5 separate regions of the Homo sapiens genome follow, and regions 2, 3, 4 and 5 are each linked to region 1. Evidence: promoter capture Hi-C in 16 types of primary human blood cells and fetal thymus (Javierre and others, 2016). All regions are on one chromosome and are shown on one strand. The core of a region is centred on a gene start or on the middle of the fragment in contact, and the rest is flanking DNA. Distances in the headings are between cores, read along the strand shown.

Region 1 (6,229 bases), core at 2,568-5,067:
CACTTAACACCCTTCCAATTCTTACCTATCCAACTTTTATTATCTATGGATACACTGAAAATACATTGTATTTACTAATGAGAATGGTTAAACCAGTCTTTGAAAATTTTAATACGCTGCATCTCAAAAGTAAATATTTGGAAACTAGAACAATGAAAAAGCAATCCCCCCTCTAAATTTAGCTGTTTATTGTCAACTTAAAAGATAATTATCGAACCACAAAAAACTGAAGGAGGAATAGGCCAAACAATCCAGGTTGGGGACTAAGCACTGGTACTTTTTAAAAAGCTCCTCTGCTAATTCTCAATGTGTAGCCAGGCTGAAGAGACCAATGACCTACAAGCAACATGAATAATGTATCTCCACTGTAATTGTCAAAGTCACACTACAATTTAAAGTTATGAATAAACTAGATTAAAACAAATAGCATCATTAAGACAAGTGATATGCTTTACCTAACCAATGTATAATACTGATAGTACTTTCTAATGACATTAACCTATGCAAAAATAAATACAAAGCTATAGTTCTAATAACTTGGACAGCAAAGACAAAAGCTTATAACAAGAAACAGGAGTTTTTCTAAATGGTTCACCAGTGGCCAACCTGTTAGTCCCCGATTCCAGTGACCTATTCTCAGAGCACTGGCTTCTCCTTGGGGATTTTCGATACTTCACTCACTGTTGCCATGACGACAGCTTCATCTCTATGTACCACTCCACATCACCCAGGCTTTGGTAAATGTAGCTGGTCGCTGTATAGTCGGTTGCAAGGGAAAAAAGAGTTGAAGTTAATAACATATACAAGTTACGTGCTTGAGTAAACTTGTAATATGCATAGAAACACTTTTACATCCTGCTTTAAAAAAAGGCTTCCATGCAATTAACAACTCCTTTTAAATTTTGCTATAATCAGACTTCTAAGATTGAAACAAAATCAGTTTCTCTGTAATAATGACCCAAAAAACAAAGTTACATCAGACACAACAATCAGGTGAGATTATATTATTTTAAATTCCATGGTTTTTACAGTTAAGACCTATTCTAACATCAACGAAGTAAACTAGTCTCACAGGAAAATTCCACAGAAGATAATCATGTGATTACATAATAGTTGGCTCAATGGTTCAAAGAATACTAGAAAACCATTTCCTTTAAGCAAAGAGAAACCTTTGACTAAAGATAGAGCCTTGTATTAGTGTCATTACTTTAAACATCCTGAAGAATCAGCCAGGTATCTAAATACAGATTTAACCTCAGACCATACCAAAGACCAATTTGAAATCTTCCCAATTCCCAGGGACTCATCAACAAACTAAAAGATATTTTAGAATTTAAAAAGTACTCTATCCCTGGACACAGTTAAGGTGAATGAGAAAAGATGGGGGAGAAAAAGTATGTAGGAAAACTGTTGCAGACTTTTTGACTAGGATACTCTTTTTTTAAAAAAGAACTGTCTGTAGACTCACAGAATAGACTAGTCATCTTAAAGTTGCTTTAATATTTGCTTGTCTGAATAGTTCCATTACTGCCAACTTACAGATTCAGCCAATAAGGACTACTCATATAGAATACTAACAGCACTAACCAACATACCCAACCCCCAGAACAACTTATAATCCTTTTAATAACTTCCTTTCAAACTCAGTACAATTTGTCTAACATCACTACAATTCCTTAAAGAGTGAATGCAAAAACTATTCTACACCAAATATATCATTCTGCAGCATGTACTGGAAGTCACCTGTAGATGCAGGAAGTCCTGCAACAAACTTTTTGGTACTGCCTCACAGGAACACATAGGTCCACATAAAATTATGTTACCACAACACCTAGGAGATACTATTTCAGTCTCTGTATTTTCTTACAACATCAAATAAATGGCCCTATCTAAATGCAACCCAATCAATCTTACTTGTTAATTTTCTAACCCACTCACTGAGACTGTATCTAACCAAAACAAAATACCTGTTTAATCCCTTTGACTTCAAACTTCAAACTTTATCATCCTGCAGTCCTTTCAGATCCGGTATTATTCGATTTATCGTAGTTCAATGTTGAGAAGTACTCTAACAAAAGCCAACCTCAATTGATAAAGAATTAACTGGGACTTCGAGTAGAAAAACATAATCTACACAGAACTTTGCCACAATATTAACTTAAACTACAGTGTTTAAACTTCCAGCCTTCAGTCTTCCAGAGAGGGGAGAGGAAAAATAACTTACAGAATACACTCACACTTGAGCCAAATGTACTCCCTTTCTTGTTTAATCTTAAGCCACAGGCCTGGCTTCACAGCACTGTTAGGATTGTCCATAAATGCAACTGCCTCTACAAACTTTAGATAACCGGTTAATTATGTTTCTTTTTTCAAATTATTTTAAGTATCAGTGTTCCTATATGAACTTTAACACCTAAATTAAAGTCCGTTTTCTTTTGCATCCGTATTCACTTGAAAGGAAAGATGTTTTGATTTGATGACTGGTGCACGGTACAGCAGTAGCAAGAGATACTATGTTCAATAATGCCAATCTTACCTTTTTCCTCTTAACTGGCGGAGGTGGTGGAATACATTAATCACATCTCTTATTCTTCTAGGTGCTTCTTCGATTTTTGATGCAAGATTAATACAAGCCATAGCAACAATCTGAAAGAACCCATGAGCCACAAAAGCCATTGTTAGATTAAACTCACTTTGAAGAATAAAATTTAGAACACAATTGGGACAACCTTTAGTAAAATTAGAGAAGACATCTCTATGCCGTAAGTCTACCAGCTATGCTAGTACTATACTTTTTGTTGTTTAACTCATCTTAATTTTGGTTCCAGAGTCAAACTCAATCTTACAGGAGTTCTGCATTTGGTTGAAAACTGTACTTTTCGTTAAGAGGGCACTTAGGCTCGTGATCGATTTTGAACCACATTCTAAAGGTTTCCACTTCCTGGCGAGTGAGAAGTAGGTACAAAGGCCTAAACTAAACCACTCCCTTTCTGGAAAAGCTGGCTGCTGACACTACCCCTACTCTGCCCATTTCCGGATGAAGAAATCCCTTTTACCCGCCTCCGCTGTGCTTACCTCGAAACTGTGTTTGACGAAAGATTTGGAGTAGAAAAAACGATGAAACAACACCTGCCCCGTTGCCATCGCCACCTGCAGACAAGAGAGGAGAACGGAAGCGCAGGGGTCAGGCGGGCCCGCTCCAGGCGCCGCCGCCATTTTGTGCCGCCGATCGCTTCCCTTTCCCCTCCCGCCGCCGCCGCCGCTGCGAACAGCCCGCTGCCAAGTCCTCCCTCCGCCTCCGCAGCCCCCCGCCCCGGCACGCCCCGGCCGCGGCTGGGCCCCGAACGGGAAAGCCTGAAGGAACCGTCCCCACCCTCCCGGGGCACGGTGATACTGAGATGCGGCGTAGGGGACGGAGGAGAGGAGAGGAGCGCCCGGCCGGCCCGGGGCCGGAGCACTGACCTGCGGCAGCCGGAGGAGAATGCCGGCGGCCTGGATGAGCTCGCAGCCCAGGATGCGTAAGTCCGTCTCACTGGGCAGGTCGAGCCCATCCTGCATGGATGGGGTGGGCGAGAGCCTCTCCTCCGGAATCAGAGAGTGGTCGATGGTAAGTGAAACTTCCGAGTACAGGCGATCGCCGATCAGGATCCCTCCCGTCGTGGTCGTCGTCGTGGTCGTCGTCCCGGAGCTGGAGCCGCCCGCGCTTGGGGCGGCCGATGAGGCGGCTGCGGCAGCAGTAGCTGTCGAATGAGGCCCGGACGCCATAGTCTTAGCGAGCCGCACGCAAGCCCAACGCAGCCGGAACCCGAAACAAGACTAACCAGCGTTCTCGGCGCGACGGATATTCCCGTGACCGCCGGGTTCTGGGCCGCTTCACGCCGCGTGCGCTTCCGCCCTGACGTCACCACGCCGGGCAGCCGCGCGCCAACTAGTCCCTCCAGGCCGCGCCTCCGCCCTCGGCATCTGGGCCTGCGAGGGGAGTGTTGGGTGCTGCGACAGACCTTGGGATCCTCAGAGGCTGAGGAGGCCTTCTCTAGCCAAGGCCGGTCGAAACCACCTTGTTTGTGATAGCCACACGAATAACGGAGCTTTACAAGATCCCTTATACCCAAAATAGAGGTGGCAGCATTGGCTAGCATCTCTGCGCCCCTTCGCCCTGCATTCCGGCCTCTTCCTTTAGCCTCGGCGCGGCTTGCGTTCCGCGTGTACCAAGGGAAGTGGCGGCCGACCTGAGCGCGCTTTGGCGGGTGGAAGTGGTGACTTTGTTGTCCTGTGTGGACGAATGTGTAATATAAAGTGACCCTCAAGGAATCTGGAGAGGGCTGCTTTACAGTATTTGAAGAACACAGGGCTGTGGACCCTATCGGTTCCCAAATGAAAGCTCCCCGGGGAGCGTGTTTTTGCCAGTATGGGGAAGTAGGGCGGAGGCATAGGAATGACCGCGAGAGTGGCTGCTTTCATAGCTCCGCTTGCGAAACTCCTGCCCGGCCTTTGACACCGCCACGGCTTTCAGTAATCTGGAAAATCCCTAGTTTCCAAAAATAGTCTTAGGGCGAGGACTTGACAGAGGTAATTTGATTATGCCTGGGAGTCTCTATTCATACATGGTTACCTACCGCGGGTAGGGTGAGGTCAACCTCGTGTTTTTTGTTTTTTTTCCTGTGATATTAGCTAGCAATTTCCAGCGTTTCCTGAACCTTGAAGTAAAAACAATGATACTGATCTAAACTACTAGAATCTAGGTTGGAAGGAAAGGAATGCATCACGTTTTACTCTTGACGCTCAGAAAGCGATACCCCAAAGACAGAGGCTTTAGAAGCTGCCTCATAATGCAGGTCCCCCAACCTTGACTTGTTGCTCCCACTTTTCCCAAGTGCAGGGAGGTACTCTCTGAAATTTCCTTTCCTGACTAGAGAAGCCTCTTTGTAGAAGAATCAATCGCATTCCTCCCCTCGCTGAAATCTCGTATCCTATTTCAAAAAGACTCAGAAATGCAGCCATTCCTGGAGGGACTTTTTCACAAGATTACTCAAAAGAAAATTATTTACTAATTTCTGTCCATTCATTGTTCCTAATAATCATTTGCTGCTCCTCAAAATAAATGTCTACATTTCTCATCTACCCTTTCCCCTATGAAAAAAAGATATAAAATCTTCTGTACTCCATTAAGCTACTGGGTAATCATCCTCCTGCTTTTACCCCGGTGTTATGTATCCCTTTTCTCCTGTTAATCGCCTGTTATCAGTTGATTTTTTTTTTCTTTTTTTTTAGATAGAGTCTCACTCTGTCGCCCAAGCTGAAGTGCAGTGGCGCGATCTCGGCTCACTGCAGCCTCCGCCTCCGGGGTTCAAGCGATTCTCCCACCTCAGCCTCCCCAGTAGCTGGGATTACAGGCACACACCACCACGTCCAGCTAATTTTTGTATTTTTGTAGAGACGGGGTTTTGCCATGTTGGCTAGGCTGGTCTTGAACTCCTGACCTCAGGTGATCCGCCCGCCTCGGCCTCCCAAAATGCTGGGATTACAGGCATCCAAAGCGCTGGAATTACAGGCATGAGCCACCGCACCCGGCCTTATCAGTTGATTAAGTGAACCTTCAGTGGGCAAAGTTGTTTTAAAATGTACTGATACTTGAGCCTTGCCTGCAGAGGTTGATGTCACTGATTTAAGGTGGGCCCAGCCAGTGGTTCAGTTTTGCCTGTCTTCGAGTGATTGGAATGTACAGCCAAGAGAGTGTAATTATGGTGCTGGCAGAAGTATTAACCTATCTGGATGTCACTGTCTTCACTTTCTGACTAGGCTGCTTCCAGGGAATCTTTCCACCTCAATATTTATGAGATATCTATAATTTTATAACAAACTTTTAAAGGAGCCTCGGTTTCCTTAAACACAATTGATGACACCAGTTTTCTGGTTTTCTTCCATTTTTGTTTATAGAGCCAGGGTCTCACTGTGTTGCCCAGGCTGGCCTTGAACTCCTGAACTCAAGGGATCTTCCCACCTCAGCCACCTGAGTAGCTGGGACTATAAGTGGCACACCACTGTGCCTGGTCAGTTTTCTGGTTTTGATAATCTATGGTTGTGTGAGATATTATCATTGGGGAAAGTTGGAGGAATACATAGGAGTAGTCTATCTTTGCAACTTCCATGTCTTATTTCCAAATAAAAAGTAAAAACCCTCATTGATTATGTACTTCATTAAAACACTGGACTTCAATGAAATCATCAC
Region 2 (6,229 bases), core at 1,743-4,242, 1.6 Mb after region 1:
CTTTTTCTTTTTCTCATTCTCATTCTTTCTTTCCCAAACAGATGGGGCACAATCATTTTTAGCTGCTTTGTTTGCATTGGACAGGTAAGGAAGGCCAAAACATTCATTGATTATTGACAGTGACTTCTAAATTCTTATCTAATTAATTCCATTGGCAAAGCTGTGTTTAATTAATGCCTAGCTTAATTAAGCAGAACCCATAAATGCCCATGTGATATAATCCATAGTCTATTTTAAGCCTTGAAATAAATGAACATTAATATTTTAACTTCACAGATTTATTAAGGAGAAATATTAAAACTATTGTAGAAGTTGAGATTTATCATGTTCCTTTTGCTTCTCTTTAATACTTTGAATTTACTTTTTCATTAATTTGACATGAACTTCTACATTATAGGTTGTTTTTGCCCTGGGTGGAATATTTAATGCTTTTTGGCTGATGGAATTTGGAAGATTTGTATTTGGGTAAGTTATGCATAATTTAATTTATCCTAATGTATTATTGTTTTAGTGTTCATCTATGAAAGATCTTTAAAAAACCTTGTCTCTTCTGGGGAATTACTTCAAATCTTTGAAACCTAGCTTCATATGCATAAGAGTATTTCTTAGTTGTCTTAGTTTTCCTTTAAAATAAGCAACAATTTTGAATGGTCCTAATCAACTCTGTGTGGGGTTTGAGTATTAAATAGTTCTCTGGAAATGATATTTTTCCCAGGCATTTTGCCTGTTCTGTTGTATTAAAGACTATGATTTGAACCACATTTAGAAAAGTATAGACCATCGATTTCTAGGTTGGTGACTGATGGACATTTCACTCTTTCTTAGCAAGTGATGCGAGGGTCCTTTCAACCCTGTCCAAGAGCTTTGCTTGAATGAGCACAATATGTGTAAGCTGACTATTCTGTGTGAATTCTTATAGACCAGTTGTTCTACCTGAATTGCATTGTCTGTTCAGTAAGCCTATTCTGAGACCAGCCTTGGGCTTGCTGCCCTGAGGGACCCAGATGACAGAACTGACTCAGTTTTAAAAGCATAACTTATTCAAGCTTTGCACAGGTGTCAGGAGCATGTAGACATAGGTGACATACCCCAAAAAGTAACCGTCAGTGAGAGAGAAGGAAGAAGAATGTATGTAAAGTTATGACAGGGATTCAGAAACAGAAATGTGGTCAGAAATGGCCTTACAGATGAAGTAGGCCTTGACAGAAGTACAGGATTTGGATTATTAGAAGAGAGGGAAAATATTTTTGGGCTAGGACAGAGTCACAAGAAATAAGACTATTTCTTATTTGTCTTAAGACTGTTTCTTAGTCCTTAATACTGAGGTGGCCTCGGTGTAAGGATATGGAGGAAGGAAGCTCCTAACTGAAGGCCCTTGGAGGAGAATCGTAAATATTGAAACTTACTGAAGGAAAATTAAAACCCAGGAAGTAGGAGAGTGTTGAATATGGAAAGTGAATGTGGGGATTGATTGATGGAGAGCTTTGCATATTGTTCTGAAAAATGTGAGTTTTTATGTTTTCACAAAGCATGGACCACTTTTCCCACATCTGCATTTTATATAATATCGATGGTAATGTAGTAACCAAGACGACTCCTTTTGTTGCCTATCATGGTTATTATTGCAGTATATCATGTGACTCCCACACTTAGCGGTATAAAACTACCATTTCATTATGCTCATGGACTTTATGGGCAGGAATTCGGACAAAGTGTAGCAAGGACAGCTTGTCTTTGCCTCTAGTGTCTGGGGCCTCAGCTGGTAAGATTCATGGAAGGGTGGGGGCTGGGATCATCTGAAAGCTTATTGACTCACATGTTTGGCACCTGGACTGGGATGCCTCAAAGACTGGGACTGCTGACTGGGGCACTTACATGTGGCCTCTCTTTGTGGTTTGCTGTCTCATAGCATGGGGGTAGTGGTTCAGGGCTCCAAGTGCGAGTGTCGGAGTGAAAAGGTGATGTCACCTTTTATAACTGAGCCTTGGGATCACACTGTCTCATTTCCACCATATTCTATTGGTTGAAGTAGTCACAAGCCCACCTGGATTCAAGGGGAGGGGACAGAGGCCCCATCTCTTGATAGGAGAAGTGCCAACATTTTAAACCTGCTGCATTGCTAACTGTAGTATTTCTTTAAAGTTGTGACTTCTGGTTTTTTTTTTTTTTTCTATTTTTAGGATTGGTGGCGAGTCCTTAGCAGTTGCCCAGAATACATATGCTGTGAGCTGGTTTAAAGGCAAAGAATTAAACCTGGTGTTTGGACTTCAACTTAGCATGGCTAGAATTGTAAGTATAATGAAAAGCCTGATGAAGCCAAATGGAAGCAAAAGATTAAATCTTATAGTTCTCTTAAAAATCACAGGATGAAATGTATTTGTGTATGGTAAATTAGATATTAACTTTTATGGATTTCTCTAGAACACAGCATGGCATTTACCTTGAGTAAAGCATTTCTAACCTTATTTCATCTAGTAAACAGTCTAAAATGGTTGTGTACATTCATTAGTTCAAAGAATCTGAGCATAGGGAGAGATCCTGTAAGTTTTGTTGTCTAATTTCTTACCCATTTTTGGCATCCCTGCTAGAACCTCTCCACATACGGCTGTCCAGGTTCAGTTTGCAATATTTCCAGGGATTGCAAGCTTGCTCTGTGATGAAGCAGCCCACCTACCTTAATGAACTTTATGAAGCGTAACCTCACATAGCGATGAAACCTCCATTTACAAGTAGCTTTTACTGATGGCTCTGACTTTTGCTCTCTGTAGATAAAGTTTACTTCCTCTGCTGTGCATCAGCACTTTGCTCCTTTGTAGACAGCTCTTAAGTTCTTGGTTATGTGTGCTCATTTCCTGTGGTTGCCTGAGCCATATGACATGGATCTCAGCTCCCTTACCATGGTGCTTATGCCTCTCTGAACTTATCTCAGTTAGCCAGTACTCCTGTTGGCATTTGGAACTTAGAAATGATCATGGTGTTTCAGGTTTGGTCTTAGAGGCTACCTAGCGGGAACAACATTATGGGTTTCGTTTGTTTGTTTGTTTGAGACAGGGTCTCACTTTGTTGCCCAAGCTGGAGTCCAGCAGTGCAATCTTGGCTCATGGTAGCCTCGACCTCCCAGGTTTAAGTGATTTTCCCACCTCAGCCTATAGAATAGTGAGACTACAGATGTGTACCACCATGTGCAGCTAATTTTGTGTATTTTTTATAGAGACAACACTATGTTTTTATTAATGCAAACTATAAGGTGTGTTGGCATTCCCAAATCCCATTAGGTTTTTTCTCTCAAGAATTCCCATGAATAGAGTATTAAAAAAAAATTTTTTTTGCCACTAAAAATCAAGCTTTCAAGCTTTGATTTTTAGTATATGTGCTGCCAAGGCGAGCAGAAGCTTTGACTTTTAATAAGTGTCGTGAAAATACAACATAGTCTCAGAGAATAAGAAACTCAATATAAAAATATTTTCATATAATACTTCATCATATGAGTATTTCTGTATTTTTATACATGTAAGTTCTTTCTGATTTTTCACTATTATAAATAGTGCTATAGTCTGACACTCTCGCTATGAAAGTTCTGTGCATCTCTTTTAGTCTCCATAGGCTAAGTGGCTAGGAATGGAATTATTAAGTCAGGGTATTTGTTAGGTCATCTGAGGACTATTGAGAGATATTTCCGCATTATCATTCCAGAGACGTTTACATCCCCACCTGTGGGATATGAGAGGATCCCTTTTATTGTAGCATTGATAGTACAGGCTATTATTACTTTTAGAAAATTACTTTATCACTTTGATAGGAAACAGCTAAATATTTGAATTTGTAATTCTTTGGTAAATAGTGTGGTTTTCCATATTTTCTAAATTTTGCCTATAAGGATATTCCCAAAGCCTTCATTACGAGTCTTGTGCAAGTCCAGATATGTCTGTGGCAGTTTGTGAATCTAGTTGTCTAACAACTTTTTAAAGAAGGAAGTGAAATCAGTTGAGCAAGACTCAACTGACTTCATTCTGGTTACCAGGACATCAGGTTCTTTTCTGTGTCATTTTAAGTTAGCTATAATTCATTAAGCTGCATTCTGAGGAGCCCTAAGTTTCTCTCTTTCTCTGTGTATGTATTTTCTTTTGATGACAGAGCTACTAGGATTGCTAACGGAAAATATGTAGAGTGTGGGGGAAAAACAACGGAGGCGCTCAGGATGACAGCACAGTTTTTGCTTAAGCAACTGTGAGCGCTGTAACCTAGCTCTTGATACTCTGCCCACCATCCCCTAAACCAGCTCCTGCTGTACTTTTCACATCCTTAGTTAAAGGCAACTGGGTTTTGGTCGTGTTAGGTTAGACATGCCTGCCATTCATCCAAGTGGAAATGTTGAGTAGGCAGTTGCATATACAGGTGTAGAATTCAGGGGAAAAATCTGGGCAAGTGATGTAAGTTCAGGAGCAAGGAAAATGCTACTTAAAATGGCAAAACTTGGTAAGATCACCAAGACTATGGATGTTGAAAGAAAAGAGATGATGTCAATTGACCAAGCCCTGGGGCACTTCCCACATTTGCAGGTTGAGAAGATCGAGATGGAACCAACAAAAGGGCTCCATTGGGGTGGGCAGAAAGGCAAGGGGGAAACTATAGGCTGTGGTATCCTGAAACCCAAGAAAAGAAATCAAGGTGGAGAGGATGTCAACTGCGTGAAATGCTATTGATAGGTCAGACACTGCTGAAGACTGAGAAGTGTACATGCCTTCAACAATGTTCTCACAGCAAATACAGTAGCAAATTTCACATGGCTGTTTCTTATAAAATACTAGCTAATGGCATTACTCAAATAAGCAACAAGGTAAACAGAGACCTACTGGAAGCTTTCTCTAATACCATCAAAAATATAAATTCCTCAAAGATAGGATGTTGCCTTAATAATCCTTTCATTCCAAAATACCTATTAAATAACTATTTAAAATCTCTTTTAACTATTTAAAATATCTATTAAATAAAATAACATGACCTGGCTTAGCAAGTACTCAATAAATGTTTGTTGAAATAATGAGTTTTCAAGTAACAATAGTGAAGGAAAATTGAAAGGGTGCTGGATCTCCAGTCCCGAGCTAAGACATGAATACTAAGAAAAATGAGAAGTGCACTGAAGGTATATGGTATATGCTAATAGTTCAAGTGTCTAAACACAATCAAACTCAAAAACTCAGGCAATAGAAAAATCATGGAGAGGTAAACCCAGGACCTCTGTGGTCATTCTGGAGGCTGCACAGGGAACAAGAGAAGCGCAAAAAAGACGGAATCTATGTCACCCCCAGCAGCCCTATAATGGAATAGCTCTTGGCCATTTTGATCATAAAATCATCTTACATGGACGCTAAATACATAAATCAGATAAAAGTTGAGCAGCGTTGGCTGAAACTGAGGTGGCTGCCTGCGATCTGGCTCATTTCACCTCCTCAAGATCTCCCTACCACTCTCATAATCCCTAAACTGCCTCTAAGAAGCCCCTGAGATTCCCTTCTAGAAACTCAGGGCAACTTATATGCAAATATATCTATGCTCTGACCACTTCCCACCATGCCCACTGCTAACCACCTAGGGCTAGGCCCAATCATCTCTGTTCTGGATTATTGCTATAGCTCCCTAACTGGTGCCTTTGCTTTTGCCTTGTGGTCTGTTTTGAAGATAGAGTGAGTCTGCCAGTATGAGTCTGTCAAAGTATCATGCCACTTCTATACTCAAACCCCAATGGCTTCCCATCTCACACAGAATAAAAACTGAAAGTCCTCCTGTAGCTTCCCTTCCCACCATTTCCTCACTGGGACCTCATCTCATCCTCTCCGTTCTGTTTGCACTGTTCCAGCCTCTGCTCTCCTTGCCATTCCTTGAACTCTCCAGGCAAGCTCCTCTTGGGGCCTGTGCAGTGGCTGTTCCTTCTGCCTGGAGTGCTCCTCCCTCAGGTATCCCCACAGTTCGTTTCCTGCAAGTTTATACGCCAAAGTTGCTTTCAGTTGGGAGGCCTCCACTCCCAATTTTATATTCTCCTTTCCAGCTTTATTTCTTTCTTATTTTTTAAAAGTACTTGTCAATATTTAATATACTAGATATTTTACTTTTTTTTTTTTAACCAAAGTAAGTTGGATATTTTTATGCTTTCTTCTTTTTTTTTTTTTGAGACGGAGTCTTGCTCTGTCACCCAGGCTAGAGTGCAGTGGCATGATATCAGCTCACCGCA
Region 3 (6,229 bases), core at 970-3,469, 1.4 Mb before region 1:
TCGGGAAGGAGGGGAGAGGGCGTCGCAGACGCTCAACAGGGAACTGGGTTTAGGGGCTCGCGGGGTGGCGTCTCGGACCCGCAGCTCAGTCGCCAAGGAAACGCCGCGCAGGCGCAGAGCGTGCCGCCGCGGGGCCGGGGTTTGCCTCCACCACCCCGCGCCGCTCGGGCGCTCTTGGTTCTTCCCAGGAAAGGGCAATGGAGTATATCCTCCTCGCGCTGAGCACACCTAGTCTCTAAGAGGTCCTGAGCAGGGTCACCGGGCGCAGGAAAAGCTGTGAGACTCCCCAAGTGTAACGGACGCTGCACTCCCCTTGCTGGGAAACGCGGACCTGCTCTCCTGGCGGCGTCTGGCGGTCAGAGAGAGGGTCCCGGGACCCCGCGTGAGGGTGAAGCATCCTGCAGCGAGGCTGGACCTTCCACCGGGCGAAACGCCACCCACCACCACCGCAAGGGACCCGAGAGTTACATTATTTCGCGGACACACACACCCACCCTCATCCTTCTGAATTATGGGACCCTGAAGAGCGGCCGTGGCCAGTTCCCCGCACGGGGCCTTAGGGGATCCCCACGCACAGCACTCACAGTCCTAAACAGGCGTGTGCCGGCTGTGGCTGCCGAGAAAGGAACTTGGGCCACCTGCTCACTCGCTCATCGGACTGGCGTACCAGTTCTCTTTTTCCTGCACACCCCCTTCTCTCCTGGGCCCCTTCTTCCCCCGAAAGCACTGACCTCCTCAGCTTTGAGTGTTCAGTAGCTGAAGGACTCCTCGGAGTCCGTGGCACAAGGAGCCACCTCCGAAGTGCTGGGGTGATGAGTTATTGGCCCCTGTGACTCCAACTCCAAACCCCTGCCAAGGGCCAGAAAAGCCCCCCTAGAAGAGCACTTCTCCCCACTAGCCAGCAGAAGCCCCAGACGAGCGGGGAAGAGCAGGGCGCCGCCGCCACAACCTGCTTTCTCATTCAAATCCTCACGCTCACACAGGAGCCCCCCTCCCTCTCGGCCCCGCAGCTTCCGAGGAAATCAGGAACTGGAGTTGCGGAGAGCGGACTGGAGCGCCTGCTGCCTCCTCTGGCCCGGGCGGGATGGGTGTACGGAACCCTAGGGCTGCACGTGGAACCCCAAGGCTGCACCTGGAACCCTTGGCTTACACTCTCCTGCGGGGCTCCCCGCTTGGCAAGGGCCAGAAGCACTGGGAATGAAGTACTTTTACTCCCCCGCAAGTTTCAAAAGTTTCGAAACCCAGGGTAACCCCTCGGGGCTGTAGCCAGAGGGCCTCGGTGGTGGGGGGTAAAGGAGTTGGAGAAACAAAGTTGGAAGTGAAGGGCGCAGGGAATGGGAACTGCGTGCAACTTGCACCAAAGTGAAAAGTGTTCTCAAACGTCCGTCTTACCTCCTTTAAAAAAAAAAAATTTCTAAGAATATAGCATCTGTCGATGCCGCAAATTAAAGAGATCTACTCTGAGTGAATGGGAACTGCGTGCAACTTGCACCAAAGTAAAAAGTGTTCTCAAACGCCCGTCTTACCTCCTTTAAAAAAAAAAAATTTCTAAGAATATAGCATCTGTCGATGCCGCAAATTAAAGAGATCTACTCTGAGTGAAGTGCAACTAAAATTGAGAGCGTGTAAATGGTAACACTTTGCTTTTATTTACCCCCAGTCTCTTCATTTGGAAATGCTACTCCTTGGCATTAACAGGCCACTTATTCACTTAGATCCGTTTAGTGGCTGGTTGACTCAAGCGGGCAACCTGCCGGGAGTAAGAAGGCGGCGGTGGCAGAGGAAAGCTTGCACGAAGCAGGCACTCAAGTGTTGATGAAACGATGAAATCTACTGAATGCACTGAAAGGATGAGTGACCAGCTTGGGGCGGATGCTGGAACCGCCGCTGGCCTAGACGGCCGCGGTGTGATCCGGCTTCTGGATTCCAGGATTTACATTTATCAGCCTTCATTCAACCTGCCCTATTGTTAGTTCAAAGCCTGGCTGGGAAGGAGTGGGGACGCAGCTCTTCACTCACCTTTCAGTTTAAAATAATCCTCCAATAAGAATGTCCTAGGAAAGCTGGCAGCATGGGGTTGGCAGGGATTTTCTGGGCTTAGTGACAACATAAACTAAAGTCATTTTCTTTTTTCATGCGTGAATTTGCCCAGGAAGTTACAAACGAGTAAGTTACAAATGAGTGCCTGAGATTGGAGCTCAGGGCCTTGGCTGCCTGTTCTCTTTGACAGACAGTGTGGAGGGTGGTAGCACTGTGACCTCTCAGCGCAAGATCTAGGGTTTCACCTTTTCATCCCACTTAGCCGATACCATAGAAACAACCCATTTGTATTATTCAATTCAACAGAGGCAATTACAATGTCACAGCAAAGCACCATGGGCAAGAAGAAACTTTGTCCTGAAAACAATCCTAGACTCTCAGAAAAAAGAAAAAAGCCACCAGAATACCCACTTGAATTTCTTCCTGCCAATAGTACCAGGAAGAAATCAATTTGGAAAAAATGTAGGTAAGGTCCTTTGCCTCTATAGAAAGAAACCTCCCCAAATTTACTTGTTTTTGTTTTTGTTTTTTTGCATGCCCATACACAAGCCTCAATTTATAAGAAATTAAGTCATTAACCCTCTGCCTCCAAACTGCTTTATATTTTGTAAACAAGCTTGTTGGAGATTTGTTTTGCTGGTAACCTCCATGGTGAATAGAAAAGCCAAAAAAAAAAAAAAAAAAAAAAAAACCACCAAGATAATCCCTCAACAGCAGCAGTTCACCCCCTAACCTCCGGTGTTTGTCTTTCTTGAGTCTGAAAAAATGCAGATGCACATGTTGAAATAAACTCAGACACAAAGTTCATAATAAGAGCACTTGTTTGCTATGCATTCTTTATTTTGATAGTTTTAATCAACTCCCATAATTTTGTAAACTTTTAAATTTTTAAATTGTGTGATATTTCAAACCTACCAAAAACAGGATATATACCATGTAATACTCCTGCTCCCCCCAGCCCTTCTTTTTTAAATAAAGCATTACAGATATAGCTAAACCCCAACTCCTGACTCGTTACCCCCACCCCTTCCCAAAGGTAATAATTCTGAAGTTGGTATGAATCATAATTATGCATGTTCTTAAATGTTTAGGACATTTATACATCCATAATCTTTTAATGTAGCTTTTCTCTCCAAGTCGTTTTAACATTATTTATCTGAGAAAAATCACTAAAACAATTAATTAATTAATTGGAGAAAATCACTAAAAACAAGAAAATGTGTTACATTGCTAAGTTTTTAGAAGCAGGACAGAACTATTTTTCCTGCTTGTGACAATCAGAGTATGGAATAATAACAAAGGGATTAGACAGTGGGTAATAAGCAGCCTCTCTAGGTTACACAAACTCTTCCATGGTTACCAAAGAATAAATAGAAAAACAAAACAAATAATACCCTCCTCTTTCACTGGTTAAAGGGGAACTGGAGAAAATGAGATCTTCATTAAAACTTCTTTGGGCAGGTAAGACAAACATCCTACATGGTAGTAAAGTACCTTTTCTAGAGGATCTCTTGGTCATGCAAGCTATGATCTTTTAGTAAGGATTTACCACTTTTCCAAGTATAAAGAACTCCTGCTGGTAGCTCAATACAAGGTTGAAATCCGCCTGGCTGAAAAGTCTGGGGTTGAATTAGCCCTGCCTCTTCAAGCACAGGGACATCCATCTGTACAGTAGTTACAAAAATCTTTTGCTGTGATTCTTTGACTTAATGTCCTCCCAGCATTAAAAGTGCTAAGAAAGCATCAATTTTTCTTAAATGCCATTGAATGGTGAAAGGCATCCTTCCCAACCCCCACCCTCTTCATTTCCTAAGCGATGACTCTCATTAATTATACTGGCACACCACTGCCCAGCCTCCCTTCTAAATAGCTGCCAGATTTCTACATATCATCTCTGCCTTGATACAGAATGTGCACTGACACCAGGATCACAGAAAATCCTGTAAGAGGTGCCTGATACACAGTAAAATGATTGATGTGCCTTGTGGTGAGCCTGCTGTGCTGCGTATCGTAGGGGGTTTCTTAGAAAACTGCACTGGGAATTTCTGTGTTGGAAAAAGATTTTTCTAGCTGTGCAAAAATTGTGCTTCCAGTTGCAAAAAGAGCCATTTATTTAAGGTGTTCAAATTTAAACAGCAACCATCTTGAGTTATATCCACGAGCAAGAGAGGAAAGGAGATAAATGTTCCCTATTTTAATCAATGCACCAAGTTAAGAAAACCATTGACCAAAAAAGCGTATCAAGGAAGAGGCACTCCTCTTTCAACACATATTTCTTTAGTACTTGCCATGTACCAGGCACTGCTCTAGGTGGTAAGCCTTAGCTGGAATATAGATAGCACTCCTGAAGTAGAGCGTAGTACCTGTCTTTATGGCCCTACTCTACAAATTGGTCACGGCTTTTAGGTACAAATAACAAAACCCCTTATCAAACCAGCTTGAGTAAAAAAAGCTGATGTATTGACTCCCACTTTAAGATAGGGGGAAGGATAAGGACTTCAGAAACGGTGGGAGTCTAGCAATTCAGAATCAGCATTTCTCTTGTTAAAGAAAAAATTAGTCAGTGTTAAAGCATGGTAAGGAAGGCTTTATCCAGCACGATCGAAATCGGCACAGGGACTACTGCAAGGAGCTCATGCAGAATACAGCATAGGCAGCTTGGAATTTATAGACAAAGAACAGATGGGGTTGCTGGATGAAAAATCACTAAGAGGAAACATCAGGAATATGAGGAACTCTAGCTAACCCGACATAACTGGATTCTTGCTGAACACAGGCCAGGGAGATCAGACATGACCTGGGCAATAGTGGAGGATGAGGGATCTGATCAGATATTGAGAATGATCAGATATGGAGAGTGGGGGTTCTTGCTAAACTGACTTGGCAGAACTCTTTTCTAAAACTGAGTTTTACAAGAAAACGCACATATGGGCCCAGGAGAAGGCTCAGAAGCATGACTAATGTTTGTTTGGCCAAGCAAGGAATTTTTGTCACTCTCACACTTTCACCTTTGCTCCTACTATTTCCCTGTCTCTGCTTTTCTCAGTGTTTTGATCCTATTCTCTCCTATTCCATATGAGCTTTCTGTACAAGCTGGGGGTGGGGAGAGCATGACTAGAGACAGCTCCAGGTTTCAATCGTCTCAGCTAGAGAGGCCTTTTTGCTTTTACCATCTGTAAATAAGATGGTAGGAAAGGATTCGAACTGACCTGACTTAGGTCATGTGTCCATCCATAGGTCAATTACTGTGGACAACAATAAGTAGAGTATATGTGTGGCCAGATCCTGATTATACACACACCCTTATGGCCAGGAAGGCGGGGTATTATAAGTAGCAGCCCATCAGAACTGCTTGGAACCAGGGAGGATTTGTTCCCAAGATGAAAGGGGCTGGTCCTACCAAGTGAAGGCAGGAAGAGATTCTGGCAAATAAAAAGAATAGATATGGGCTGGGCACGGTGGCTCACACCTGTAATACCAGCACTCTGGGAGGCTGAGGCGGGTGGATCATGAGGTCAGGAGTTCGAGACCAGCCTGGCTAATATGGTAAAACCCCGTCTCTACTAAAAATACAAAAATTAGCCAAGCATGGTGGCAGGCACCTGTAATCCCAGCTACTCGGGAGGCTGTGGCAGAGAATTGCTTGAACCCGGGAGGCAGAGGTTGCAGTGAGCCAAGATCGCGCCACTGCACTCCAGCCTGGGTGACAGAGCGAGACTCCGTCTCAAAAAAAAAAAAAAGAATAGATGTTCCCTAGGCTGCCCTCTCTTAAATCTGCTGCCAAAGAAAGAAACACCTTTATACTGATTCATATGTATATGACTTAATCTACAAAGTAGATCAGAAGAGGAATTTCCTAAATCCATCATGGGAGACTGAGGAGAGAGGAGTAGTAATGGCCAACTGTAAGTTCTACCAATCTTTCCCTCCCCAGCTGAAGAAGCATGTGTCCCCATGTGGGGCCAACTGACAGGAGCTGGAGATGGGGAGGAAGGAACATAACCAGGATAGCTGATCTCTGAAAGAGTTGTTTTGTTTTGTGTTTTTGATTTTTTTTATCATGGAAGTGTTTATATATACACGAAAGTAGAATAGTATAATAAAACCCTATGTATTAGTCGCTGTGTTTCAACAATTGTTAATATTTTGACAACTTTATCCAGGAATATGGAGATTCTCTGAAATACTT
Region 4 (6,229 bases), core at 1,755-4,254, 1.3 Mb before region 1:
AGGATGTTTAACCTGTATATAGAAAGAGACTTATTTAGACAAACTTGAAAGACTCATGTACTACTTACACATAGGGTTTTGTTTTGTTTTGTTCTATGTTTTGAGAGAATCTCGCTCTGTCACAGCCCAGGCTGGAGTGCAGTGGCATGATCTTGGCTCACTGCAGCTTCCGCCTCATGGGTTCAAGTGATTCTAGTGCCTCAGCCTCCGGTGTAGCTGGGATTACAGACATGTGCTACCATGCCTGGCTAATTTTTCTATTTTTAGTAGAGATGAGGTTTTGCCACGTTGCCCAGGCTGGTCTCAAACTCCTGGCCTCAAGTGATCCTCCCATCTCAGCCTCCCAAAGTGCTGGGATTACAGGTGTGAGCTATGGCGCTCAGCCTTCAGTTGGTTTTTAAATGTTTTGCTGACTAAAATATTAAGGGATTGCACTTGTCCATTCATAATTGTAGGAATAATAAGTTGCTACACTTTTCTAGGGATCTTACTCAACTGTTCACAGAATACATAGAGAAATGGCAAACTTGGTGAGTTATATAAAAATCTAGCATGTCTGGCTGAGTGCGGTAGCTCACACCTGTAATCCCAGCACTTTGGGAGGCCGAGGCGGGTGGATCATGAGGTCAGGTGTTTGAGACCAGCCCAGCCAACATAGTGAAACCCCGTCTCTACTAAAAATATGAAAAATTAGCCGGGCGTGGTGGCAGGTGCCTGTAATCCCAGCTCATCGGAAGGCTGAGGCAAGAGAATTGCAGTGAGCTGAGAGGTTGCAGTGAGCTGAGATCGCGCCACTGCACTCTAGCCCGGGCTACAGTACAAGAGTCCATCTCAAAAAAAAAAAAAAAAAAATCTAGCATGTCTATTCCTGATGACTTTTTTTTTTTTTTTTTTTTTTTTTTTGACACAGAGTCTTGCTCTGTCACCCAGGCTGGAGTGCAGTGATGTGATCTCCACTCACTGGGTTTCATCATGTTAGCCAGGTTGGTCTCGATCTCCTGACCTTGTGATCCACCCGCCTCAGCCTCCCAAAGTGCTGGGATTACAGGCGTGAGCCACCGTGCCCGGCCTCCTGATGACTTAGCTGGGCTCACCTCTGTTTCTTCCCTTGAAGCCTTGGGATGTCTTCCTGTTCTATGAGAAATTCCTTGAGACACACTGGGAATCCCTTTCCCTTAAGGAAAAGCTTTTCTGCAACTTTATGTGACTCAATATGAATTAACATAATATTAACAATGGCAATGATAGTTGTGTCATTGGACTAGTGGAATTTTAAGATATTAATATTTAAGATATATTGTAATTTCAGAGATGCGTGGCTTCTTTCACTTGGCAAGTTTGAAATGATTCATTTATGTTTTGGGGATTTTTCAGCCAGAAAGGACAGCATACCACTCTGGAGCAATAGAGAATTTTAAAAGAGCAGTTTGGCTAAAGAGTAGGCCAGGTTCTTATAGGTCTTGGGAAATATTTTGAGCTTTATTGAACAGTCTAAGGGGAAGTCACTGTAAGGTTTTGAGCAAAGGAAGATTTGAATCTGATTTTTTTTTTCTTTCTTTTAAGCACACTGGCATGTTATCCAAACTCAGTATCACCAGTAATGGAACAAAATGACATTGTGTCTTTGCATTGTATCATATCAAGAGGAGGCATGATAACATTACCAATGTAAATTTCTTGTCAAATGTTTATCTAGAATCTGATCATGATACAACAAAGAGATCCAGTGTGGGACATTCTACAAAAAGCTGGTCTGATCTTTAAAAAAGGTCAATGCCATAAAAGACTATAAAAAGGTGAGGAGGTGAATAGTTGAAGGAGACAATGTATGACAATGTGTGTACTGTGTGTGTGGTCCTTGATAGATTATGGAATTTTTTAAAAACCATAAACACCTTGTTTTTGACAATTGGGGAAACTTATATGTAGATAATTATCAATGTTAACTTTCTTGGATGTGATAATGATATTGTAGTTACATAGGAGATTGTCCCTGTTTGTAGGAGATGCATGCTGAAAAGGTTTTGGGGGAGTGAAAGGTATACAGTTTAAGTCGTTCAGGTGGAAAAAGTGTATGTAGATGGAAATAAAGCAAATACAGCAAAATGTTACTGATCATTGATATAGATGAAGAGTGGTGTTTATTGTACCAAACTTTCAACTTTTCTTTAGGTTAAAAAATTTAAAAATAAAAAGGGATAGGGTAGAACAACAGAACTACAGAGTCTTACTTTTTGATTTAACATTTTAGTTTAGGTTCCAACTTCATTCAGTGTTATGTGAGATGATGGCCTCTTATGAAAAACCTCAGTAAAATTGACCAACATTCCTTTATTTTAATTATTAAAAATTTTTTTTAAGAGATAGGGTCTTGCTGCATTGCCCAGACTAGTCTCCAATTCCTGGGCTCAAGTAATCCCCCCTCCTTAGCCTAAAAAATTATGTGTGCTTTTAATCTAAAATACCCAAAGGCTTTTTTTTTTTTTTTTTAATCCAGTAATTTTGTTGGAGTATGTTTTAGGGTTGGTCGTTCTGAGTTCATAGACTAATTTTGATTCATGTTCTCTCTTGCCTTGTGTAATTTTAAAAGTATCTTTTAGCTACTATAGAAATAGTACATTCTAGTTTTGAGCTGAGGATGTCTTTCTTGCTTATTCTCATAGAGACATCATTCTGTTCTTTATTCCCTCTATTTTTTATTTTTATTTTTTTGAGACAGGATCTCACTCTGTCACCCAGGCTGGAGTGCAGTGGCATGATTATGACTCACTGTGGCCTCAACCTCCTGGGCTCCTCTCACCTCTGCCTCCCGAGTAGCTAGGACCACAGGCACGTGCACCCACTCCCAGCTAATTTTTTTTTTTTTTTTTGAGATGGAGTTTCACTCTTATTCAGGCTGGGGTGCAATGGTGTGATCTCAGCTCGCTGCAACCTTCACCTCCAAGGTTTGAGCAATTCTCCTGCCTCAGCCTCCCAAGTAGCTGGGATCACAGGCATGCACCACCACACCCAGATAATTTTGTATTTTTAGTAGAAATGGGGTTTTACCACGTTAGCCAGGCTGGTCTCGAACTCCTGACCTCAGATGCTTCACCCTCTTTGGCCTCCCAAAGTGCTGGGATTACAGGTGTGAGCCACGGCACCTGGCCTAATTTTTGTATTTTTTGTAGAGACAGGATTTCTTTATGTTACCCAGGCTGGTCTCGAACTCATGGGCTCAAGCGATCTGCCTCCCTCCACTACCGCCTCCCAAAGTGCTGGTATTACAGGCTTTAGTCACAGGGACCTGGCCTCCCTTTTTTTTACTTTTAGTAACTTTGTATGGGATTTAACTTCTATACTTTGTTTCCTTTTTATGTGAATTTAGTTTTCCTCAACTTTTAGAAGGAAGCTAGTCAAGATAACGTTTCTAACTTCATACAACTTCCTCTTCTGTTAAAAAATTATGGCACTTGTTTCCTAAGAATTCCTGGCTCTGTCCCTGTGCCCCATGTTAGTCTGTTCCTTCTCCCTTTTTCCTGTCCTGTTAGTTTTGGTCATCTCCCAGCAGTGGCTCTTCATAGCAGGCCCTCTCCTGGAAAGGATCTCTGACTGGTTAGTGTCAAGGGTTCATGGGGGTTAAACTCTCCTGGCCCCTTTATGTCTTACCTTGGGTTCCCTGCCACTTGTGTACTATTGGTGTGGGCAAACCTCCTCCTAGCGCGCTGCGGTTCTCTAATTGGGTGCTGTGCCTTCTGGGTCGTACCTCTTGGGTGTTGGGAATTCTCCTGTTTTCAGGTCCTTTAATAAGGCTGGATTGCTTCCCACGTAGGTGCTGTAGCACTAGGGTTTGTGGCTGTGGTAGTTTGTCACCACCAACTTGTATTTTGGGGTTCTTGTAAATGTCTTTGCTATCTAGTTGTTCAGTAATTATGTGGGATCCAAGAAAATCACAAAACATTTCCATAAACATTTCCATCTCCACTTTTCCAGAATCTGCTAGATCTTCTTACCCTATTCTTAAAGAGTTTGCTGTATATGGTTTAATTTTTTCCTTAATATTTTTTCTTGATATCTTAAAATATATCTATGAATATTGCTTATTTTATTATGATGCACTCAGGGCAGTGAGGGATATTCACCTTAAGTCTTTAGGCATTTGTCTTTTTAATAGCTTTATGTAAATAGATATGGTAGATTTTTCTATCTTGTGATGCTGAATTTTATTTGTCTCTGCATTGATGTGACTAAGTTTCTTTTTTCTCATTAGGATGGTTTTTCTAATATCTCGAATCTAATTATCAAACTTTACAACTGTGTGTGAAGTGTGAGCAAATAAATGCCAGGTTTTGAGGGAGAGGAACTTTGCTTTTACTAGTGGGAGCCTTTTTGTTTTCTCCTGAATTGTCAAAGCTGTGACAGTTGCTGCATAGGCAAGGTCATACCCACAGTAGAAGGAAATAGGGCAAGGATTCAGTTTCTTCAGTAATCTCTTGTGTCACAGAATTGAACATTTATTGCTAAGGAAACAGGAAAATTCTTTTAAAATACATTTTTTGAGTAAAGATTAGTTTACTTAAATAAATACAGGCAGTCCTTGCTATGCAGGATAAGTAAAACAGCTAAAAATAATAATGCAAGCTGAAACCATGCAAAGCAATTTTAATAGTCAGTGGGAAAATTACAATTGTTTTGTGATCTTTAAAAATTTTTGTTAAATCACTAAAAACTTTTGTCAATTACAAAAGTGTAGGGAAATAAAAAAATAGTAAAACTACTGTTTACTACAGTATAATTTAAAATACTAGGAACATTGAGAATTAAAGTATTTTATTTCTTTGTAAAAAGCTTATCAATAGTAGTTTAAACAGCACTTCTCTGTGTCGTTTCTGTGCCTTGGTTGCTTCCAACATTTTATCCTTTGCAGTTTTAATGTCATGAAATATCTCCTAGAGTTGCTTTAATGTGAAGTATTTTCCTGGAGTCACTTCCTTTGGGACGTTGCCATTCTTTCCATCACAACCAGTTTCCTCACTGATGTTGGTAAGTTCTGTGGCTGTATATCTAGAGGCTCTCAAACCCTGTCAGCCTTGCCACAGTCAGCATTTTCTTCTGTAACTCCATATATTCAAATTTCACTCCAGCATTATCACTTTTCATTTCTTTGCTGCATTTTCATCTTTGTTGGCCAGCCCCGTTTGGATTATCTGTATTTGTAAAAAGTCCTTTGGGGTTTATCAGTGTAAGACAGGCAACACACTGCACTCTGGCTGTTTGTTGTCCATTGACCAATCACCAATAGAATGAAAGAAGGGAGGTGATTGGTCACTGATCCTGATGTTCATCTGTTATTTACATGGTGGTTTGTGGACTGAAGAGCTGGCAATGAAGTTTGTCCTTTATATAATTACTCACAGTAATGTATGATAACTGAAATTTGAGCCATGTTGTTGGGGACTGGTAATTAACTAAACCTTGGTATAAACCATGGTAATTGAAATTTGTGCATATTAGGATTATGCAAGGCAGGAACTCTGCCTGTAATGTAAAAAAGCATACTTAGATTTGGTAAAAATGGTAAAGATAATAATGGGACTGAGTCTGAGAAATTTATGCAATAATGTAGTGTTTAAAAATATTTTTTAAAAAGTTAAGATTAAGGAATTATAGAGAAAATCCATGAAGGGGTGTGTGTATGTGTATACATTAATACTAAGGGTAAAGGTCTGAAAGGACAAAGTTGTAGTTTGTTCTGTGATTTCACTTTTCTACGGTATTGAATATTCATATGACCAGAACCTTCATTTCTATGACCTGAGTAATTTCTTCTGGCACCGGATTGGCTCCCTCTCACAAATCCTCCTCTGTAGATGACTGATTTGTTTGTTACTTTTTTTTTTTTTTTTTTTGAGATGGAGTTTTGCTCTTGTTGCCCAGGCTGAAGTGCAATGGCGTGATCTTGGCTCACGGCAACTTCCGCCTCCTGGGTTCAAGTGATTCTCCTGCCTCAGCCTCCCGAGTAGCTGGGATTATAGGTGCCCACCACAATGCCTGGCTAATTTTGTGTTTTTAGTAGAGGCAGGGTTTTTCCATGTTGGTCAGGCTGGTCTTGAACTCCTGACCTCAGGTGATCCACCTGCCTCGGCCTCCCAAAGTGCTGCGATTACAGCTGTGAGCCACCATGCCTGAACGCTTGTTCGTTTTTGCAGCAGACGGAATAGTGGTGTTGTAGGTTAGGCCTGCATTTATT
Region 5 (6,229 bases), core at 1,796-4,295, 1.0 Mb before region 1:
CAAGTGGAATTTCAATGAATAATTGTGTACCGGGGCTGGGAAGAATTCCTAGAGGAGGTGAGCTTTAAGGGAGCATGTGCGCGTGTGTGAAGATTCATGTCAGCAGAGATGTAAGATGTGATGGCAGGTGGGAGGTGTGAGTGTGAAGCTGTTAGACCGAATGAACAGTTTATGTCCAGGAGTCACAGTTGGAGGAGAGTCACAGCTGGAATCATGTGGTGGAAAAACCCATATGTGAGGAGTTTCTTTGCTTTTTTTTTTTTAAACTTTCTATTTTGAGATAACTGTTTATTCATATGCAGGTATAAGCAGCAATAGAGAGATTCCATATATCCTTTGCCTAGTTTCCCCAAATGATGGTATCTTGCCTTGCCACAGTTCAATAGCACAATCAGGAAACTGATGATGACACAAGCCCCTGCCCTTATTCAGATTTTTCCAATATTATATGCACTCATTTTTGAGTAATTTATATTTAGTTCCATGCAGTTTGGTTACATGTATTGATTGATGTGACCACTACCATAATCAAGACACAACAGTTCCATTATAAGAATCCCACCTCTACACTTTTATAGCCATAGCCATCTTCTTCCCTTTTGTCTTTTCTAACCCATGACAATTATGAATTTGTTATTCCTCTCTAGCTACAATTTTGCCATTTTGAGAATGTTATATATATGGAATGATACAGATTCCAAAATGCAACCTTTTGGTATTAGCTTTTTTTTTTTCCCACACTCAGCGTAAGCCTCTCGAGATTTATTCAACTGGTTGTTTTGACCAATAGTTCATTCCTTTTACTTGCTGAGTGGTATTTCGTAGTATGAATATGCCACAGTTTAATCATTCACCCATTATGGAATATTTGGGTTGTTTCTAGATTTTGGCTATTATGAATAAAGATGTTATAAACATTTGTGTACAAGTTTTCATGTGAACATAAGTTTTCATTTCTCTGGGATAAATGCCCAACAGTGTGATTGCTGTGTCATATAGTAAGTTTGGAATGTTTAGTCTTATAAGAAACTTTTCTGGAGTGGCTGAACCATTTAACATTCCTACCAGCAATTTATGAGGGATCCAGTTTCTCTGAATCTTTGACAGCATTTAGTGTTATCACCATTTGTATTTTAGCTATTGTGATAGGTGTGTAGTGATCTCTCATTGTGGATTTCATTTGTATTTCCCTAATGGCTAATGATCTTTTGATGCTCTTATGTGCCATCTGTATATCTTCTTCAGTGAAATGTTTGTTCATATCTTTTGCCCGTTTACCAATTAGATTGTTTATGTTTTTATTGTTGAGTTTGGAGAGTTCTTTGTATGTTCTAGATATAAGTCTTTTGTCAGATATGTGGTTTGCAAATATTTTCTCCCAGTCTGTAATTTGCTTTTTAAAATCCCCTTCACGTGGTATTTCATAGAGCAGAAGTTGTTAATGTTGATGAAATCTAATTTATGAGCTTTTCCTTTTATGGATTGTGCTTTTGGTGTCAAGTCTAATAAGTCTTCACTTAACTCTAGGTTCTGAGGATTTTCTCCTGTTTTTACCTACAAGTTTATAGTTTTACATTTTACATTTAAATCCATGATCAATTTTGCGTTGATTTTTGTATAAAGATGAGGTTTAGGTCAATGGTTCATTTATTTTTGTTTGTTGCTGTTCTGCTTTGCCTCGCTTATGGATATCCAGTTGCTCCAGCACCATTTGATGGAAAAGCTATTCTTCCTCCACAGATTTGCTCTTCATATTTGTCAAAAATAATTAGCCATATTTGTGTGAACCCTTTGCCTTTTACAACCACTTGTTGATATTTGTCTATCATTTGACAGCAACATCTGAAAGAGGTTAATGGACCTTTCACCCAAATGAATCATGCCTCTAGTATAAAAAATTATTTGATTACAAAATATTTAATAATTTAGAGAAGTCTCATTACATACTCATGAATCATCCCTAAGGCTTTATGGTCCTTATAAAAACAGATTGGCCCAGATCCCACCAAAATATTTCCTTTTACCTAAATAGAAAGACATGGGAAAAAGTTCCCATATTTTTTTTCCCCAGGGCCAGTACATAGTTGCTTATGTTTGACTCTGAGTACTTTAAAGGGATGAGAAAAGTGATTGGCCACCAAAAGCCTCCTTTATGCACAGGCCTGGGCAGGGACACACAACCAACAGCTCTGTCGGGAACTTAGGAGCCTGCTCGCCTACAAAAATGATAAGAGAGATCTAAAGAAAACAAGCTAAACCTTTTGAGGGACATACTGAAGCCAGATAACCCAAGGTATTCACAGCAAGATACAGTGAGTCTTAAAGTTAAGCACCGTGCAATTAGCTTTGCTTCCTTGGGTTTTTGAAACATGCATCTGTATAAACCTGCCTGTGCAGACATCCCGAGCCCCAAGCTGGGTCTGCCAAAATCCAGTGAATCGGCTCTAAAATGTAGATGGCACCTAGCAGTGACCAAGACTCAGCCTCAGGCGGCCTGCAAACCTGTGAGGCCCAGTGGAGCAGCCGAACAGAAATATGTGGAAAAGTTTCTACGTGTTCATGGAATTTCGTTGCAGGAAACCACCAGAGCAGAGACGGGCATGGCATACAGGTACTGCTGATTGCAAAGTCATCCAACCAGGGCACTGCACTGATGTCAAAGGTTGTTATTAAAGAAATAAGGACTGAAATAGCAAGACAAAACCCTGTAAGAAAAAGAAGGAAAAATGCAGTGAGCCCTCTTCTTGGGTTGCATTCTTGTTTTTTTTTTTTTTTTTTTTTTTTTTTTAGCTTTAAGCGTTCTCTTTTCTCAGAGGGTTACAGAAAAGACAGTCAAGTTCATCTGTGGAAACTCCTAACCATGTGCTCCAGAAGAAGTATCTTTGGCTCTGAGTAGGGAGGTGATTTGGCAGGTCAAAATGAAGAGTGGGGACTCCATTCTTCTTAAGGGAAAGAGAATTTATAAGTTAAGAGTAGAATTTTTTTTTTTAATGCTGCCTGGGATTCAAGACTTATTTTCTTCTAAACTTGAATCATGTGGTCTGTACTAATAGCTAATAAAGTAGTTCAAGTTCTCCTTGAAATGACAGCACTTTATTTATTTATTTATTTATTTATTTATTTATTTATTTTTTAAATCAGTGTCACCCAAGATAAATTACTGGTTGTACACTAAACTTCCAATATCATTATTTATTTTATGAAAGATTAACAAAAAGGAGAAATGTTTTCTTGGTATAGGGTTGGATGTGTAATCTTTATAAGTTGCTCTGTGATGGGAAGAATCTTTCCTATTCAGAGCAATTATTGCTCCTGCACAAGTGCTTCCTTTACGTACGCCTGGAGTTTTAAACAGCCCAGAAGCTGAGTAAAAGCTATTCAGAAGGACAAGGTACTGAAAACTGAAAAAACAATTTAGCAATTGTAAGAACAGTTGTCCTAGCTCATATCAAAACTTCTGCACAGCATAAGATTGTTTTTCATGTACAAGATGTCCCCAGTGATTTCATTTTTCCAAAATCTGAAGGTCTATTTCAGTGTAGTAGCTGCTGCTCTAATTTATCAGCTAATTATATTCATAAAGCAATTTGCAATGATATGGCTCCTCTCTGGAGAGCAAAGTATTTTACACAGACTCTATGTAATAAAAGGGTTGTGCAGAAAAGAAATGAACTCTTCTCAATTTATAAGGAGGATAGGACAGCCTACCACATCCTGCTTTAGAAGGGGAGCTCACCTTTTCATGGTAGCTCATGGAATGAGGAGGGATGGATGAGGAGGAGATGCTGCTGTTTCTTTCTGAATCTGTCACCGGAAGGAGCCTGCTTCTCTGTCCCCCCACGTTTTCTCTCTTCTCCGTGTTTCCTCGACCCTCAGTGGTGGTAGTGATGGTGATGTGAACACAGATCGGGCGAAGGGGAAGATGGACCATTTCACTTTTAAAAAAGTCTGCCTCCATGTCTTTGTCATAGGATGGGTGGTATTACCATGAATTGTTACATAAACCTTTAGAGGGTATGCCTTTCTCTCTCAAAAGTCTAGTTTAAATATCAATTACAGATCTGTGCTGTGTGCCAATGTTCAGATGAAGGTATGTTCTAGGAAAGCATTTTTCAAAGGATTATGAAGTAGAGGAACACGTTCTTCAGACAGGTGAAAGCAAAGCTGCCTCAGCTAAAGGTGGGAGCTTGGAGCCCACCTGCTTGAGGGGAGCAGTCATCCCCCAGCCTCTTCTGAGACACCTATGTGGATTCCATACTCCCCATAGGTTTTGGGCGACTCTTCATGATGCCTTGGTGGGGAAGGCTCTGTTACCTTGGAGATGCCAGATACTGCCTTGGACAAGGGTGTATGCTACCATATCACACCCTAGTAAGAAATGGGACTTAGGAGAATGTTGCCCCTAAATCAGTTTGAGGGGAGAAAAGCACAGTTTAATTGATCATTAACCCTAAGAAATAGCCAAGGCTCTAAATTATGATGAGCTTGTGCTCTGACACATCTTCCTGACACATTTCTCCATTACCCACTCCCCAATGTCCTTAGTGCTCTGTTTATTCTCCCTTTAAGACACTCGCTTACTGCCCTTATTTAAGACATTCTCCTGCAACCATTTGGAAAGGATTTTTAGGAAAGAGAACCAGGGTTCTCTTGGCTCCTCCCCAACTTAGCTTTAGACCTTGATTTCTTATAAACATAGTTGGGGTTAAGAGAGAAGCTGACTTTCATATTCTTACTTCTTTATTATGATTTTTCCCCCTCAGGAAAAAGAGGGTGGGCAGGGGACCATGGCTATGTTAAAAAAACAACCTCTGTTAAGCCTTGTTTTTTCTATTTTCTTTTTTCTTGTAAAGTTGAAAGAAAATGGGCATTGAAGTTAAACAGACCAGAGTTCAAATTCAAGCTCTGCCTGTTTTAGAACTGTGTGACATTGGGCCAGTCATGACATAGAAATGTCTAATACAGTAGGTGCTCACTGGGAATGGAGGTTTTCTTCCCACTTACTCTGTAGTGTCTGTCCATCAGTCTAAGTGGGGGAGGGATTGAAACCCTTTAGGTGAAACATATAAATGGATAAGAGAATATTCTCAAAAGGAAAAAAAAAAGAATAAGACAACCCACAGTAGTTCACAATCTGTGTAGGTTTCCATGCTCAGCTTTAGAATTCTGAGAGGTCTGGAAGAGCCGGGTAAGCTGTTTTCCATTCTGAATTTGGTCAGACGCCATTGCAGACTTTAGCCCAATACCAGCTGCTTGGGTCCCTCGATCATCTGTGAGAGAGCATTATGTTGTGTTTCCATGGAGACTTCGTTTTATTTCTAACTAAGGTTGACCAGGAGGAGAAAAAAAATAAGTAAATATGCAAACACATGCATCAATTGAAAAGAAACTGGAGGACATTGAATGTGGTGTAAAAAGTGCCAAGTTGCTGTGTAGATCCTTCTGTTGGCTTAGAAATCTCAGCAAAAATAGAAGTTTTAAAATTCATTTTATCAGTGACTATAAAATGGTTACCTAAGAGGGTCTTCAGTTTACTACTAAGAGGCTGAAAATTAATTGTCTTTATTACATAGCACTGAACTCTAAGCCAGACAGTAAACACGAGCCTGAGTCAAGGTTAAAATACACTGAGGAGTAGTTTTATGAGAAAAACACCAAAAATATCTAGACTGAGTTAAGATGTAGCAAATACCTAGCTTTGAAGCAATCTTATAATACTAACATTGGCAGGAGAAACTTAAACAGATATAAAATGAAGCTCTAATCCAGGGACAACACTTTTCCTGTAAAAGGCTAGATAGCAAATATTTCATGCTCCAGGTTCGTATCTGCCTCTGTTACATCTACTGACCTCTGCTATGTAGGGTGAATGTGGCTATTGATGATATGCAAATGAGTGGGCACAGCCATGTTCCAATGAAACTTTATTTATGGACACGGAAATTTGAATTTTATAGTTTTTGCATATCACAAATCTTATTTTTTCCTCCAAACCACTAAAAATGTAAAAATCATTCTTAGCTTGTGGGCCATACAAAAACAGGTGGCAGGCTGGGTTTGTTCAGCAGGCCATAGTTTGCTGACCCCTGGTTTAGAAAGCAAGGCCTTCAGTTGCTCAGGTTATGTATTTACTTGTTTGTATTTATTTATTTTTAAACCTTTTTGTTTCCAGAGGTATTTAAGGAACTCAAATGCATATAATTGAGAAAGATAAAAATAAATTACAAAG

What was found. Contacts are between HindIII fragments. The CHiCAGO score rates a contact against its expected background, and 5 or more counts as called.
Region 2: a fragment that was not itself captured here is called in contact with the fragment with the promoter of CCNL1 in region 1 in 1 of 17 cell types (M0 macrophages); the score reaches 6.2 in M0 macrophages.
Region 3: a fragment that was not itself captured here is called in contact with the fragment with the promoter of CCNL1 in region 1 in 1 of 17 cell types (fetal thymus); the score reaches 5.4 in fetal thymus.
Region 4: a contact is called between a fragment that was not itself captured here and the fragment with the promoter of CCNL1 in region 1, in 1 of 17 cell types (total CD8 T cells). The highest score is 5.6, in total CD8 T cells.
Region 5: a contact is called between a fragment that was not itself captured here and the fragment with the promoter of CCNL1 in region 1, in 1 of 17 cell types (naive CD8 T cells). The highest score is 5.3, in naive CD8 T cells.

The regions. Positions count from the first base shown.
Region 1 is chr3:157,156,330-157,162,558 of GRCh38, forward strand. It overlaps CCNL1 (cyclin L1), which reads right to left and starts at 3,818. Exons shown (of 11, transcript NM_020307.4): 1 at 3,463-3,818; 2 at 3,076-3,150; 3 at 2,537-2,646. The coding sequence starts at 3,765. RefSeq lists enhancers at 3,030-3,099, 3,733-4,462, 4,550-4,599, 4,620-4,679 and a silencer at 3,240-3,449. The HindIII fragment of the contact is 11,903 bases long and covers 556-6,229 here.
Region 2 is chr3:158,806,999-158,813,227 of GRCh38, forward strand. MFSD1 (major facilitator superfamily domain containing 1) reads left to right here. Exons shown (of 16, transcript NM_022736.4): 4 at 42-84; 5 at 398-465; 6 at 2,181-2,289. Among named protein-coding and RNA genes, the nearest start is that of MFSD1, 8.1 kb to the left of the region's middle. The HindIII fragment of the contact is 699 bases long and covers 2,644-3,342 here.
Region 3 is chr3:155,744,109-155,750,337 of GRCh38, forward strand. It overlaps PLCH1 (phospholipase C eta 1), which reads right to left and starts at 963. Exons shown (of 23, transcript NM_014996.4): 1 at 732-963. RefSeq lists enhancers at 200-821, 716-925. The HindIII fragment of the contact is 869 bases long and covers 1,786-2,654 here.
Region 4 is chr3:155,885,736-155,891,964 of GRCh38, forward strand. All of the region lies in intron 1 of GMPS (guanine monophosphate synthase), which reads left to right. Among named protein-coding and RNA genes, the nearest start is that of GMPS, 18 kb to the left of the region's middle. The HindIII fragment of the contact is 3,641 bases long and covers 1,185-4,825 here.
Region 5 is chr3:156,140,810-156,147,038 of GRCh38, forward strand. The region is part of intron 1 of KCNAB1 (potassium voltage-gated channel subfamily A regulatory beta subunit 1); the gene reads left to right. Among named protein-coding and RNA genes, the nearest start is that of KCNAB1, 23 kb to the left of the region's middle. The HindIII fragment of the contact is 8,066 bases long and covers 1-6,229 here.